Linked DNA regions of Homo sapiens: region 1 is linked to region 2. Evidence: promoter capture Hi-C in human tissues and cell types (Jung and others, 2019). All regions are on one chromosome and are shown on one strand. Each heading gives the region's core, a stretch centred on a gene start or on the middle of the fragment in contact. The rest is flanking DNA. Distances are from core to core; before and after follow the strand shown. Region 1 overlaps CAMKMT (calmodulin-lysine N-methyltransferase). Region 2 holds the start of SLC3A1 (solute carrier family 3 member 1).

The links. The method cuts DNA at HindIII sites, captures the fragments that hold promoters and counts their contacts. A contact is called where the count stands out against the background at its distance.
Region 1: a fragment that was not itself captured here is called in contact with the fragment with the promoter of SLC3A1 in region 2 in 1 of the 25 tissues and cell types used here (aorta).

The regions. Positions count from the first base shown.
Region 1 is chr2:44,694,192-44,700,655 of GRCh38, reverse strand. All of the region lies in intron 3 of CAMKMT (calmodulin-lysine N-methyltransferase), which reads right to left. Among named protein-coding and RNA genes, the nearest start is that of LINC01833, 240 kb to the left of the region's middle. The HindIII fragment of the contact is 7,126 bases long and covers 1-6,464 here.
Region 2 is chr2:44,271,675-44,278,633 of GRCh38, reverse strand. It overlaps SLC3A1 (solute carrier family 3 member 1), which reads right to left and starts at 3,154. Exons shown (of 10, transcript NM_000341.4): 1 at 2,669-3,154. The coding sequence starts at 3,098. The HindIII fragment of the contact is 25,171 bases long and covers 1-6,959 here.

The DNA.
Region 1 (6,464 bases), core at 1,876-4,375, 420 kb before region 2:
TTGCGTCCATATAAGATAGCTAGCAAACTTAATCAATAAATCTTGTGTGTGTTCTGACTTCTCCACCAGTCGGCATTCCCCCATCTCTCTCCCTCTCCCCAGGCCTCCCTATTATTAGGCTAATTAATAAACTTAACAAATGGTCTCTAAGTGTTCAAGTGAAAGGAATAGTTGCATGTCTCTCACTTTAAATCAAAAGCTAGAAATGATTCCACTTATGGAGAAGGCATGTTGAAAGCTGAGATAGGCTGAAAGCTAGGCCTCTTGCACTAAACAGACAAGTTGTGAATGTAAAAGAAAAGTTCTTGAAGGAACTTAAAAGTGTTACTCCAGTGAACACACGAATGATAAGAAGACAAAACAGCCTTATTGCTGATATGGAGAAAGTTTTAGTGGTCTGGATAGATCAAACCAGCCACAACGTTCTCTTAAGCCAAAGCCCAATCCAGAGCAAGGCCCTAACTCTTCAATTCTATGAAGGCTGAAGGTGAGGAATCTGCAGAAGAAAAGTTTGAAGCTAGTGGAGGTTAGTTCAAGATGTTTAAATAAAGAAGCCATTTCTGTAACACAAAAGTGCAAGGCAAAGCAGTAAGTGCTGATGTAGAAGCTGTAGCAAGTTATCCAGAAGATGTAGCTAAGATCACTGATGAAGATGACTACACTAACCAACAGATTTTCAATGCAGACAAACATTGGAAGCCTTCCATTGGAAGCAGATGCCATCTAGGACTTTGGTAGCTAGAGAGAATTCACTGCCTGGCTTCAAAGATCCAAAGGACAGGCTGAGTCTCTTGTTAGGGGCTAGTGCGGCTGGTGACTAAGTTGATGCCAATGCTCTGCACCATTCTAAAAATCATAGCGCCTTTAAGAATTATGCTAAGTCTAGCCTGGCTCAGTGGCAGGTGCCTATCGGGCTACTCAGGAGGGCGAGGAAGGAGGATTGCTTGAGTAAGCCCAGGAGCTGGAGGCTGTAGTGGGCTAGGATTGAATATGTGAATAGCCACTGCACTCCACCCTGGACAACATAGTGAAACCCTGTCTCTTAAAAAAAAAATAAGAGAAAAGGAATTATGCAAAATCTACTCTGCTTATGCTCTATAAATGGAACAGTAAAGCCTGGATGATAGTACATCTGTTTATAGCATGGTTTACTGAATATTTTAAGCTCACTGCTAAGACCTACTGCTCCGAAAAAAGCACTTCCCTTCAAAATATTATATACTGCTCATTGACAATGCACCTGGTCACCAAAGGGCACTGATGGAGATATGCAAGGAGATTAATGTTGTTTCCATGCCTGCTAACACAGCATCCATTCTGTAGTCCATGGATCAAGGAGTCATTTTGACTTTCAAATCTTATTATTTCAGAAATACATTTCATAAGGATATAGCTGCCAAATACAGTGATTCTTCTGATGCATCTGAGCAAAGTCAGTTGAAAATCTTCTGGAAAGGACTCACTATTCTAGATGCCATTAAGAACATTTGTGAGTCATGGGAGGAGGTCAAAATATCAGTGTTAACAGGAGTTGGAAGAATTGATTTCAACATTCGTGGATGATTTTGAGAGGTGGAAATAGCAAGAGAACTAGAATGAGAAATGGAGCCTGAAGACGTGACTGAATTGCTGCAATCTCATGATCAAACCTGAAAGGATGAGGAGTTCCTTCTTACGCACGGGTAAAGAAGGTAGTTTCTTAAGATGGAATCAATTCCTGGTGAAGATGCTGTGAACACTGTCGAAATTACAACAAAGGATTTAGAATATTACATAAACTGAGTTGATAAAGCAGTGGCAGGGTTTGAGAGGATTGACTCCAATTTCGAAAGAAGTTCTACTGTGGGTAAAATGCTGTCAAATAGCATCGCATGCTACAGCGAAATCTTTCCTGAAAGGAAGAGTCAACCAATGTGGCAAACTGCATTGTCTTATTTTAAGAAATTGCCACAGCCACCCTAACTTTCAGCAACCATCACCCTGCTAACCATCAGTTAGCAGCCATCATCAAGGCAAGACCCTCTGCCAGCAAAAAGATGACAACTCACAGAAAGCTCAGATAATCATTAGTATTTTTTAGCAATAAAGTATTTTTAGTAAGGTATGTGCATCTTTTTAGACATAATGCTATTGCACACTTAAGCTACAGTATAGTGCAAACTTTTATATGCACCAGGAAAGCAAAGAATTTGTGTGACTTACTTTATTGTGATATTCACTTAATTGCAGTGGTCTGGAACCAAACCCTCAATATCTCCAAGGTATGCCTGTACTGAGTGAAAGAAACCAGTTACAAAGGACCACATGTTGTATGTTTTTATTTATATGAAATATCCAGAATAGGTATATTCATAAAGATGGAGTGTGGCATGGTAACTGCCCAGGGCAACAATGGTTAGGTGTAAATGGAGCATGACTGCCAATGAGTATAAGGTTTCTTTTGGAGGTGACAAAATATTCTAAAATTGTGGTGACAGTTGCACAAGTGTGTGAATACACTAACTACCACTGGATGAATTGTATGGTATGTGAATTATATCTCAATAAAGCTGCTACTTTTTAAAGTTTTCTCATTCTTATTTGTGGGAATAAAATTGCCTTTCAAAAAGATTTTCTTTTCAAATTAGTTATAGAGACACATAGTTTAAAGAGCCATTGGGATCTATTAGAATGGCTAAGACAAACAGTAGCACCAAGCCCCTTTCCCCAGTATTTCTGCTTCCCCAGAAACTATTACTTTCAACTCTTTTAGCTAACTCTTCTGGTAATTGTGTTTATATTTCTACATAATAAGTTTGTATTGTTGCTTCTTGATTTTTCAGTTTCAAGCAAAATCTACTGACCCCTCACTGTGCAAAATTAGCATTTTTTGCTTTTATCTCTATTCCTCTTCCCACATCACATATGTGTGCCCCTTATCCACCCCACGCCATCTGCTTAATATTATATTTTAATATTACAATAATAGTTATAATGTTAAAATTTTGGTAAGATCACTCCCCAGTTGATTTTATTATGACTAGGAAATAAAACAGCTATGTAGTAAACTATGATTGTTTTTTCTTTCATGCACACATTTTTGTTTTCTCTGGAGTTTATAAAGGTCTTTTCCCCCCTCATTTGCTAAGATTTTTAGGCAACCTCAAACTTCAGTTGTCAATTTCTCCTCTCAATACATTCATTCACAATGGGTGTTCTATCAACCTTATGAGGAAATCTCTCCTGGTATCTTCTAACCTGCCTTAGTCTGGACTGAATGCCCTCTATGCTTGGTACACAGCTGACAGCCTAATCTTCACTATCATCCCAGGCTCCTTTTGCCTTTCTCCTGGGTTCCATCTCTTGTTTCCTCTACCCATTGTCTTCCTCTTTCTTGGTTTATTCCCTCATTTTAGTGTAACACGTCCTCCAGTAGTTTCTTGAAAAAGGGGGTAGGAGAGGTAAATGTTTAAGAACTTGCATGATTCAGTGGGTAATTTCAATCCAGAAACTCCATGTTCTTCAGTTCTTGGAAAGTTTCTTACAAAGTATCATCGATTATTTCCTTACTCCATATTTCTCTGTTCTCTTCTTCTGCAACTGTTATTATTTGGATGTTGAATCTCCTGAACTCATCCTTTTATTTTAAAAAATCTTTTCTTTCTTGCTTTGCATCTCTTATTGTTTTCTACTTTCTTGGAAATGTCCTCAACTTTATCTTCTAACCTTTTTATTGTTCTTTTAATATATGCTATTGTTATTGATGGTCATTCTCTGAATGTTTCTTTTATAAGCATCCTATTCCTGTTTCATGAATGCAATGTCTTAATTATTTGAAAGTATTAATTATAGTTTCTTTTAAGTTTTCTCATCTTTATAAAGTCTGTTTTTTTCAAGTTGTTTTTTTCTGTTTCTTGGTTTTGTTATCTGTCACATTAAAAGCTTCCCTCAGGTATCTGGTAATTCTGGAAGTAAAGAAGGCTGAGTGTAGGTGAGTGGGGTGAGGGTGTGGGGCTCATCATTCAGTCTGCATATGTTCACTTAGTCACTCCACCTGGCTTTTCGTATTCTCTGCTTTCAACTGTACCTGGTGTCTCCCAAGCCCAAAATCCCCAGTTTAACCCTCTCCAAAGAATAAACCTCCAGTTTTTTGTTGGAGTAGAGGGAGAAGAGTTGCCCAGTCACCTGAAATGGGGATATAACTACTTCTTAAACAACTTTCAATCAATTCTCCTTAGTTTCATCCCCTTCAACTCCTTCTTTTAGAAGTACAACTGCCCCTCAATATTTGTGGGGGATTAGTTCTAGGACTCCTCCACTCCATACCAAAATTTGCAGATATTAAAGTCCCTTATATAACATGATGTAGTATTTGCATGCATATCCAATATAAGTGCTATGTAAATATTTGCTATAATGTTTTTAAACATTTTTGGCCGGGCACAGTGGCTCACGCCTGTAATCCCAGCACTTTGGGAGGCTGAGGCGGGCAGATCACTTAAGGTCAGGAGTTCAAGACAACCCTGGCCAACATAGTGAAACCCCGTTTCTACTAAAAATACAAAAATTAGCCAGGCATGGTGGTGTACGCCTATAATTCCAGTTATTCGGGAGGCTGAGGCAGGAAAATCGCCTGAACCTGGGAGTTGGAGGTTGCAGTGAGCCGAGATCACGCCACTCCACTCCAGCCTGGGTGACAGAGTGAGACCCTGTCTCAAAAAATAAAATAAAATAAAAATTTTTGTGTTATTTTTAGTCTTTTTTTTTTTTTGAATATTTTGGATCAGAGGTTGGCTGAATCCTCAGATGCAGAATCCATGGATACGGAGAACCAGCTACATCTGATGCCACCGATTTCCGAGCCTTCAAGGCTCCAGAAGTTTAAATTGGGTTGATTCTCAGCTTTGCCAACTGCTGGCTTTCTCATATCTGCTAAGTCAATGCATTTGCCTTCCAGCTTCCAAAATTTTATTGCTATTGCATGCTGCCCCTTAAAATGGCCAATGTGTCATTCACGTGGGTTTATGCCTTAAAAAACATCCCTATGTAGAGGTTTAGTGAGGTTTCTTAAAGGAGTGCATTGTTCAGTCTCCAAGTTTACCTGAAACCTAGAAATGCATGGTCTTTTGAATATAGTTTTGTAGGACAGTTCTGGAATCCAAGACATATTCTTATCTCTTCCAGAGTACATTTTAGCATCAATGCTTTAAGCTCAGAATGGTGGGGTTTCATTCACTCATTCTGGAAGAATAGTGAGTAGGGGGACTTCATAGACTAGAGAGAAATTCATTGGAAAGGTGGTGAGAATAATTTTTAGGAGAAGGACGTACAAGACAAGAACACTAATGATGAGATCCCAAGGTTCTTATGTTCCCTTAATAATATTATAGTACTATGGTTATTAACTGGGTGATGAAATAATCTGTACACCAGACCTCCGTGACATGCAATTTATCTGTAAAACAAACCTGCACATGTACCTCTGAACTTAAAATAAAAGTTTAAAAAAATAGATTATAATGCTTATCTGAAAATTATAGCACTTCTGCTACATTATTGACGTCACTCAATGAAGTGCTGCAGAATGCCCAAAGTGGCATTTATAGTAGCTAAAGTGTTAATCTAAAAAAGCATCCCCAAACTTTAAATTAATAGTTTATTCTAGGTAAAGTATTCTCTAAACACGTTATAAACGTTATTAAGAAGCATATCATTTCCTATTCTTTAGTGCTTTCTGTATAAATCAAATGAGTTTATTTCATAGGAGGAAAGGCCTCCTTCATCCTTTGGGCCTCCATAAAAGCATTGGCTAAACAAGAGTTCTGTCTGGAAAAGGAAGAGTACTACACTATACTTGCATATCTATGGTCATTTTGTTTTATCACATTTCTTTTGAACAAAGGCTTGGTTCCCTGCAGTTGCTTCTGTCAGAACTGGGCCTGTTGAATTTGTCAGACTTTAGAAAGCCTATAGCCAGCCAACACTAAAACAGCTGTCTGTGTAGCAAGAGTGAGGTGGAAAACTGGCAATGTGATCTACTTAATATAAGCAACCACTTTGTTGTTGTTATTGTTAGTGAAGTAGCTAGTTTCGAATTATTTTATTTTATTTTTGGAGACAGGATCTCACTCTGTCAGCCAGGCTGGAGTGCAGTGGCACCGTCATGGCTCACTGCAGCCTTGACTTCCTAGGCTTAGGTGATTCTCTCCCAAGTAGGTGGGACTACAGGTGTGCACCACCACACCCAGCTAATTTTTCTATTTTTGGTAGAGATAGGGTTTCACCATGTTACTCAGGCTGGTCTCGAACTCCTGGGCTCAAGTGATCCTCCTGCCTCAGCCTCCCAAAGTGCTGGGATTACAGGCATGAGCCACCGCACCTGGCCTAGAATTATTTTAAATGTCAAGTTTCATAGTTAATCTGGAAACAAACAGCACAACTATGATTAACCTGAAGACTGAGCAAATCCTAAAATTCAGTAACCT
Region 2 (6,959 bases), core at 1,905-4,404:
AGTAACTTTCTGTGTAATCCTGATGTGACTTCCTAGAATTAGACTGTCAGAGGCCACACCGCAGGCTGAAGGTCACTAATTCCAAAGCACAGAGTCATTCGACACCTGGGATCTGGGCTTTTCCCCTATAACACACTGCTTATTTATTTTATTTTATTTTATTTATTTATTTATTTATTTATTTTTGAGATGGAGTCTCGCTCTGTCGCCCAGGCTGGAGTGCAGTGGTGCGATCTTAGCTCACTGCAACCTCCGCCTCCTGGGTTCACGCCATTCTCCTGCCTCAGCCACCCAAATAGCTGGGAATACAGGCACCCGCCACCACGCCCAGCTGATTTTTTTTGTATTTTTTTAGTAGAGACGGGGTTTCACCGTGTTAGCCAGGATGGTCTCAATCTCCTGACCTCGTGATCCACCTGCCTCGGCCTCCCAAAGTGCTGGGATTACAGGCGTGAGCCACCACGCCTGGCCTGACAGGCTGCTTATTTCTGTCTCTGTACCCCAGTTCCCCCATATGGGTAGCTGCAAGATCTCACACGGTATCAACAGGCAGCAAGAGGGTTTTGATCTAAGCCAGCACAGCAACAAAATATATCTTATGATGAGGCACAAAGGAACATGAGGATGAAAACAAAGTGGCTGGAGAAAGTAAACAAGGGATCCCACCCCACATTTTAGAAGGAGAGAGGGCAATCACCAAAACCAGACTCAAAGCTGGAATGGGATCTTCATAATAACAACAATGAAATCCCTTCAACCTCAAAGACAAATGCCTATGGATTGCAGGAAGTAAAACATTCCTCCAAGAACAGGTATTGGAAATGACAAACATCAGAGCTGATTAGAAACCACCATGTTTACAGGAATGTTGGACCTATCCAGAAGGAGATTATTAAGAAGGCAGGGCCAGGAAGTGGTAAACATATCTCTGGATTTAGGGCTTTAGGTCTATGCAGTCAGAGCATTGCTTTTCCTAAGCACTCAATGTGCAAAAGGCAGCAGGTCATAGGTCATGAGTCAGGGGAAAGGGAGTCACTCAAGGCAGGATTAAAGGATGCTAGAAACACATCCAAAGCCGAAGATCTGGGGTGGGGAGCCCATGGTCTGATTAGGGAGGCTAAAGAAAGAGTAATGAAGGCAATGGGTTTGAGCTGCACCATGAAGGACAGATACACTCTTCTTCAATGAGTGACAATGCAGGATGATTTTTAAAACGAGAATGATACAGCCGGATGCGGTGGCTCATGCCTGTAATCCCAGAGTTTTGGGAGGCCAAGGGGGGGCAAATCACCTGAGGTCAGGAGTTCGAGACTAGCCTGACCAACATGGAGAACCCTCGTCTCTATTAAAAATACAAAATTAGCCAGGCATGATGGTGCATGCCTGTAATCCCTGCTACTCGGAACGCTGAGCCGAGAGAATTGCTTGAACCCAGGTGACGGAGGTTGCAGTGAGCTGAGATTATGCCATTGCACTCCAGCCTGGGCAACAAGAGTGAAACTCCATCACAAAAAAAAAAAAAAAAAAAAAGAAGAGAGAGAATGATAGGAGCGTGAAAAAGAAAAGCCTTCTACTAGTGATTAAAGAAAGCTGCAGGTTTCAAGAATTCATTTGTAGCATTTTAAAGATACATTAAGCCCATTCCTACTTTCCACATTCATATCATCCTGTTTTGTTTTCTTCAAACCAATTATCATTGTAAAACATTAGTTTGTTAGTTTCCTTATTTGTTTCCTATTGTTGCCTTGAAGTAGAGTGACCATACCAACCAATTTGCTCAGAAGTTCCCAGTGTATGCCTGCCATCTGGCATAATTTTACTCTGAAGTATGTTCTGGTTTGAGCAATATATTGTAAGGATGTTTTACACATAACCCACCAAGAAATTAACTTAGCTTTTAAAAAATAATTTTTCACTTTTTTTTTTTTCTTTTTGGAGACGGGGTCTCCCTATGTTGCCTAAGCTGGCTGGCTGAGAGCTCCTGGGCTCAAGCGATCCTCCCACCTCAGCCTCCCAAGTAGCTGCAACTACAGTCATGCGCCACTACCCCTGGTTAATTCTTTACTTGTTTTATACTAATACGGACATGGTTTTAAACAATCCTTAATTCAAGTAATGACGAATGCATACTGCTACCCCTTTTCTACTTCCCTTCCTTTTTTAGAATTTAAACTTTAAGACTCAGCCTATACTTTTTACAGATATCACTTGATTTTTAAAAAAATATTATTTATGCTTTATTCACTAATACACTCCCAGCCACACAGCCAAACTAGCTGCTTCGTATACTGGGAAAGCAATTCCCAACTGCCACCCTGACATATTCAACTATAAAGTCCCCAGAAACAGGACATAGATTTTAGAAGGAAGGCTGCTCTAAGAAGTTAGAATTGATGACTGAACAACTGTATGTACTTAGTGGGCAATAAATTAAACAACTCGTTTGGCTCAAAGGCCTTCAGCAAATAGCCCTTCAGCTAGTAAAATAACTGCTGGGTTCTGCTGAGTGATTTTCTAAGAATATCATAAACAAGGAGCAACTTGGCATGACCAGTCATAATGGAATGTGCTTACTGAACAACCCAGGCATAATTTGGTTCTGAAGAACAAAAGAACCATAAACCAATCTCATCCTGGCACCCACCCTAAATGATCTCTGGGCATGTACCTTTCAGATCTCCGTTCCCATCCTTGTTACTGTCCTTGAAAGACCTTGGGTAGATCTGGTACATGGGCCCCTCCTGCCACCAGTCTAGGCACTTTGGAGAGAGGGCAATGATGGCTATGGTGGCCGCGATGAGCACCAGCACAGAAGCCACTGTGAGCCAGAAGAGGATCTCCCGAGGTATGCGGTAGCGGGCCTGGCCAGAGAACTGGAACAGCACCTCCTTGGGCATCCCCGCATAGGGCTGGACGCCCTTGAAGTCGGGCTCCTGGGAGCCAAGGATGCCCCTGGTGCTGTGCTTCAGGTTGTCTGTTGAGCTTCCTGGATCCGGGGTCTGCTCCAGAATGTCTTCATTATGGACAAACCCGTTGTTTGTCTGGCATCCCTTCATACTCATCTCGATGGAGTCTCTCTTGCTTTTATCTTCAGCCATGTCTCACCGACTTATGTCTTCGGAGTGCCTTCCTGCAGTAAGGGAGGTGGAAGAGTGGCTTGCTGAATGCTTGGTCTTGTTAATGAACTTTGTGTGGTTTATAAATAAACCTAGCTGGACAAAGTCCAGCCAAGGAAGAAAGGGTAAAAGTACAGAGGTTTAAAAAAAAAATCTCGGGACTGGCGCGGTGGTTCATGCCTGTAATCCCAGCACTTTGGGAGGCCGAGGCGGGCAGATCACCAAGGGCAGGAGTTTGAGACTAGCCTGGCCAACATGGCCAAACCCCGTCTCTACTAAAGGTATAAAAATTAGCCAGGCGTGGTGGTGTGCACCTGTAATCCCAGCTGCTCGGGAGGCTGAGGCAGGAGAATCGTTTGACCCCGGAAGACAGACGTTGCAGTGAGCCGAGATCGTACCACTGCACTCCAGCCTGGGCGACAAGAGCGAGAATCCATCCCACAAAAAAAAAAAAAATCTCCACTGGGCATCTTGGCTCACACCTGTAATCCCAGCAGTTTGGGAGGCTGAGGCAGGCAGGTCACCCGAGGTCAAGAGTTTAAGACCAGCCTGGCCAACATGGTGAAACCCCGTCTCTACTAAAAATACAAAAATTAGCCGGGCGTGGTGGTGCATGCCTGTAATCCCAGCTACTCAGGAGGCTGAGGCAGGAGAATCACTTGAACCCAGGAGGCAGAGGTTGCAGTGAGCTGACATCGAGCCATGGCACTCCACCCTGGGTGACAGAGGGAGACTCTGTCTCAAAAAATAAAATAAATAAATAAGAAAGAAAATAAAAATAAAATGAAACTAAAAATAAATTAAAAAATTAAAAATTGGAAACAACCCAGGTAGCTATCATCAGATGGATAGATAAACAATGTGGTTATACATATAGTGAAATATTATTCAGCTTTGAAAAGGAATGAAGGCTGGGCATGGTGGATCACGCCTGTAATCCCAACACTTTGGGAGGACAAGGCGGGTGGATCACTTGAGGTCAGGAATTGGAGACCAGCCTGGCCAACATGGCAAAACCCATCTCTATTAAAAATACAAAAATTAGGCCAGGCGCGGTGGCTCACGCCTGTAATCTCAATACTTTAGGAGGCCGAGGCCAGTGAATCACCTGAGGTTGGGAGTTCAAGACCAGCCTGACCAACATGGAGAAACCCCGTCTCTACTAAAAATACAAAATTAGCCAGGTGTGGTGGCGCATGCCTGTAGTCCCAGCTACTTGGGAGGCTGAGGCAGGAGAATCGGTTGAACCTGGAAGGCGGAGGTTGCGGTGAATGGAGATCACGCCATTGCGGTCCAGCCTGGGCAACAAGAGTGAAACTCCATCTCAAAAAAAAAAAAAAAAAAAATAGCTGGGCATGGGGACATATGCTGTAATTCCAGCTACTTGGGAGGCTGAGGCAGGAGAATCGCTTGAACCCAGGAGGCAGAAGTTGCAATGAGCTGAGATAGCACCACTGCACTCCAGCTTGGGTGATGGAGTGAGACTGTCTCCAATACATAAATAAAGGACTGAAATTCTGACACATGCTGCAACATAGATGAACCTGGAGGACATTATGCTAAGTGCAATAAGCCAGACCCAAAAGGGCAAGTGTGATTTCACTTAGATGAGGTATCTTGAGTAGTAGGATTCATAGGAACAGAAAATAGAAACGTGGTTACTGGAGGTTGGAGGAAGGGAATAATGGGGAGTTATTGTTCATTGGGCAGAGAATTTCAGTTTGGGATGATGAAAAGTATTCCTGAGATGATAGTGGTGATGGTTGCATAACAGTATAAACATACGTAATGCCACTGAAATGTTACAGATGTTTTACCACAACTTTTTTTAAAGCTTAAAGCTTTCTCTATTTAGCCAGGTATAAGAAAAATGACTTTGGGGGGAAATTATTTTTCTTATACATGGTTAAATAGAGAAAGTGGGAAGATAGCTTAAGCCCAGGAGTTGGAGACCAGCCTGGACAATATAGTAACACCTCATCTCTACAAAAGAAATTTAAAATTAGCTGAACATGGTGGTGCACCCATGTAGTCCCAATTACTCAGGAGGCAGGCTGATGTGGGAGGATCACTTGAGCCCAGGAGGCAGAGGTTGCAGTGAGCTGAGATGAGCCGAGGAGACAGAGGTTGCAGTGAGCTGAGATCACGCCACTGCACTCCAGCCTGGGTGACAGAGCAAGATTCTGTCTCAACAACAACAAAAAGGAATGTAATGATTTATGATGTCCCTTTCATCAGGAGCACATACAGTCCTATGAATCGTTTGATCTGATAATGAGACTTTTTTTTCTTTTAAATGATGATAGTTATCTGGGGCCCTAATCTTAGTGTCTCTTTGTGGAGTGGCTTAGAAGCATTGTATAGTATAGAGGTATGGAGGAATGAGCTACTTGATCTTGGACAAATTACATTTAAAACTGAGTAAATCCCAATACTTGGCTCATTGAATGCACCCAGTGATACCTCTCATTATTATTAATTATGCCCATTGAATATTTTTTATTTTTATTTTTTGAGATGGAGTTTCACTCTTATTGCCCAGGCTGGAGTGCAATGGCGTGATCTCAGCTCACCCACAACCTCCACCTCCCGGGTTCAACCGATTCTCCTGCCTCAGCCTGCTGTGCAGCTGGGATTACAGGTGCCCGCCAACACACCCAGCTAATTTTTTGTATTTTCAGTAGAGACAGGGTTTCACTAAGTTGGCCAGACTGCTCTCCGACTCCTGACCTCAGGTGATCCACCTGACTCGGCCTCCCAAAGTGCTGGGATTATAGGCGTGAGCCACCATGCCATGCCCCAAATCATTTTCTAACAAAGAGCAGCCAGTAAAGTCAAGCTGCAGACATAGACAAGCAAGCCGGGAGCTTGCACAGGTGGATGCGACAGGAAAGAACTACCTGGGACTAGACATGTTCAAAATGGCGGCTGCACCTCCCCTTCTCTGCCAGCCACGTGTACAGTAAGGAGCAGACAAGATGGCACCGGCCAAGTGGAGAGTTCATTTGCATAATAAGATTAGAGTGGGGCCACCAGCCTTCCCTGTGTGCTATGTAAACGTCACACCTGACCCAAAAAACCTGTGAGCCCTACCTAAATCAGACACGGCCTCCTCAAGCTGGACTATAAAATCTGGCGTATCCACCAGCTGACCTTTTCCTCTTGGAAGTCCCTTCTTTCTCACTAGAGAGAGAGCTATTTTCCTTTGTCTTTCTCCTTCTTCCGCCTATTAAACCTCTGCTCCTGGCCAGGCGCCGTGGCTCAGGCCTGTAATCCCAGCACTTTTGGAGGCCAAGGCGGGCAGATCACCTGAGGTCAGGAGTTGAGGACAAGCCTGACAAACATGAGGAAACCCTGTCTCTACTCAAAAATACAAAATTAGCTGGGCGGGGTGGCGTGCGCCTGTAATCCCAGCTACTCAGGAGGCTAAGGCAGGATTGCTTGAGCCCAGGAGGCCAAGACTGCAGTGAGCTGTGATCACCCCACTGCACTCCAGCCTAGGTGACAGAGTGAGGTTCAAAACAAAAAAAGAATATACACCACAGTTTATAAGTGGGCATGTGGGATTTTTTTCGTTTGTTTTTGGCTATTATAAATAAAATTGCTACGAGCAATCATGTACAACTCTTTCTAAGGATATAGCTTCCTTCTCTCTTAGGAACCAACTAGCAGTGAAATAGCTGGATAATATGGTAAGTGTATAATTAATGTTTAAGAAACTGCCAAACTGTTTTGGAAAGTAGTTGTATTGAGGCAGGAGAATATAGGGATTGGAGGCAGGGAACCTAAGGCTGTTTCACGCAGCATTCCTAGAACTAAACTGAAAGGAAAACCCTAACTTTA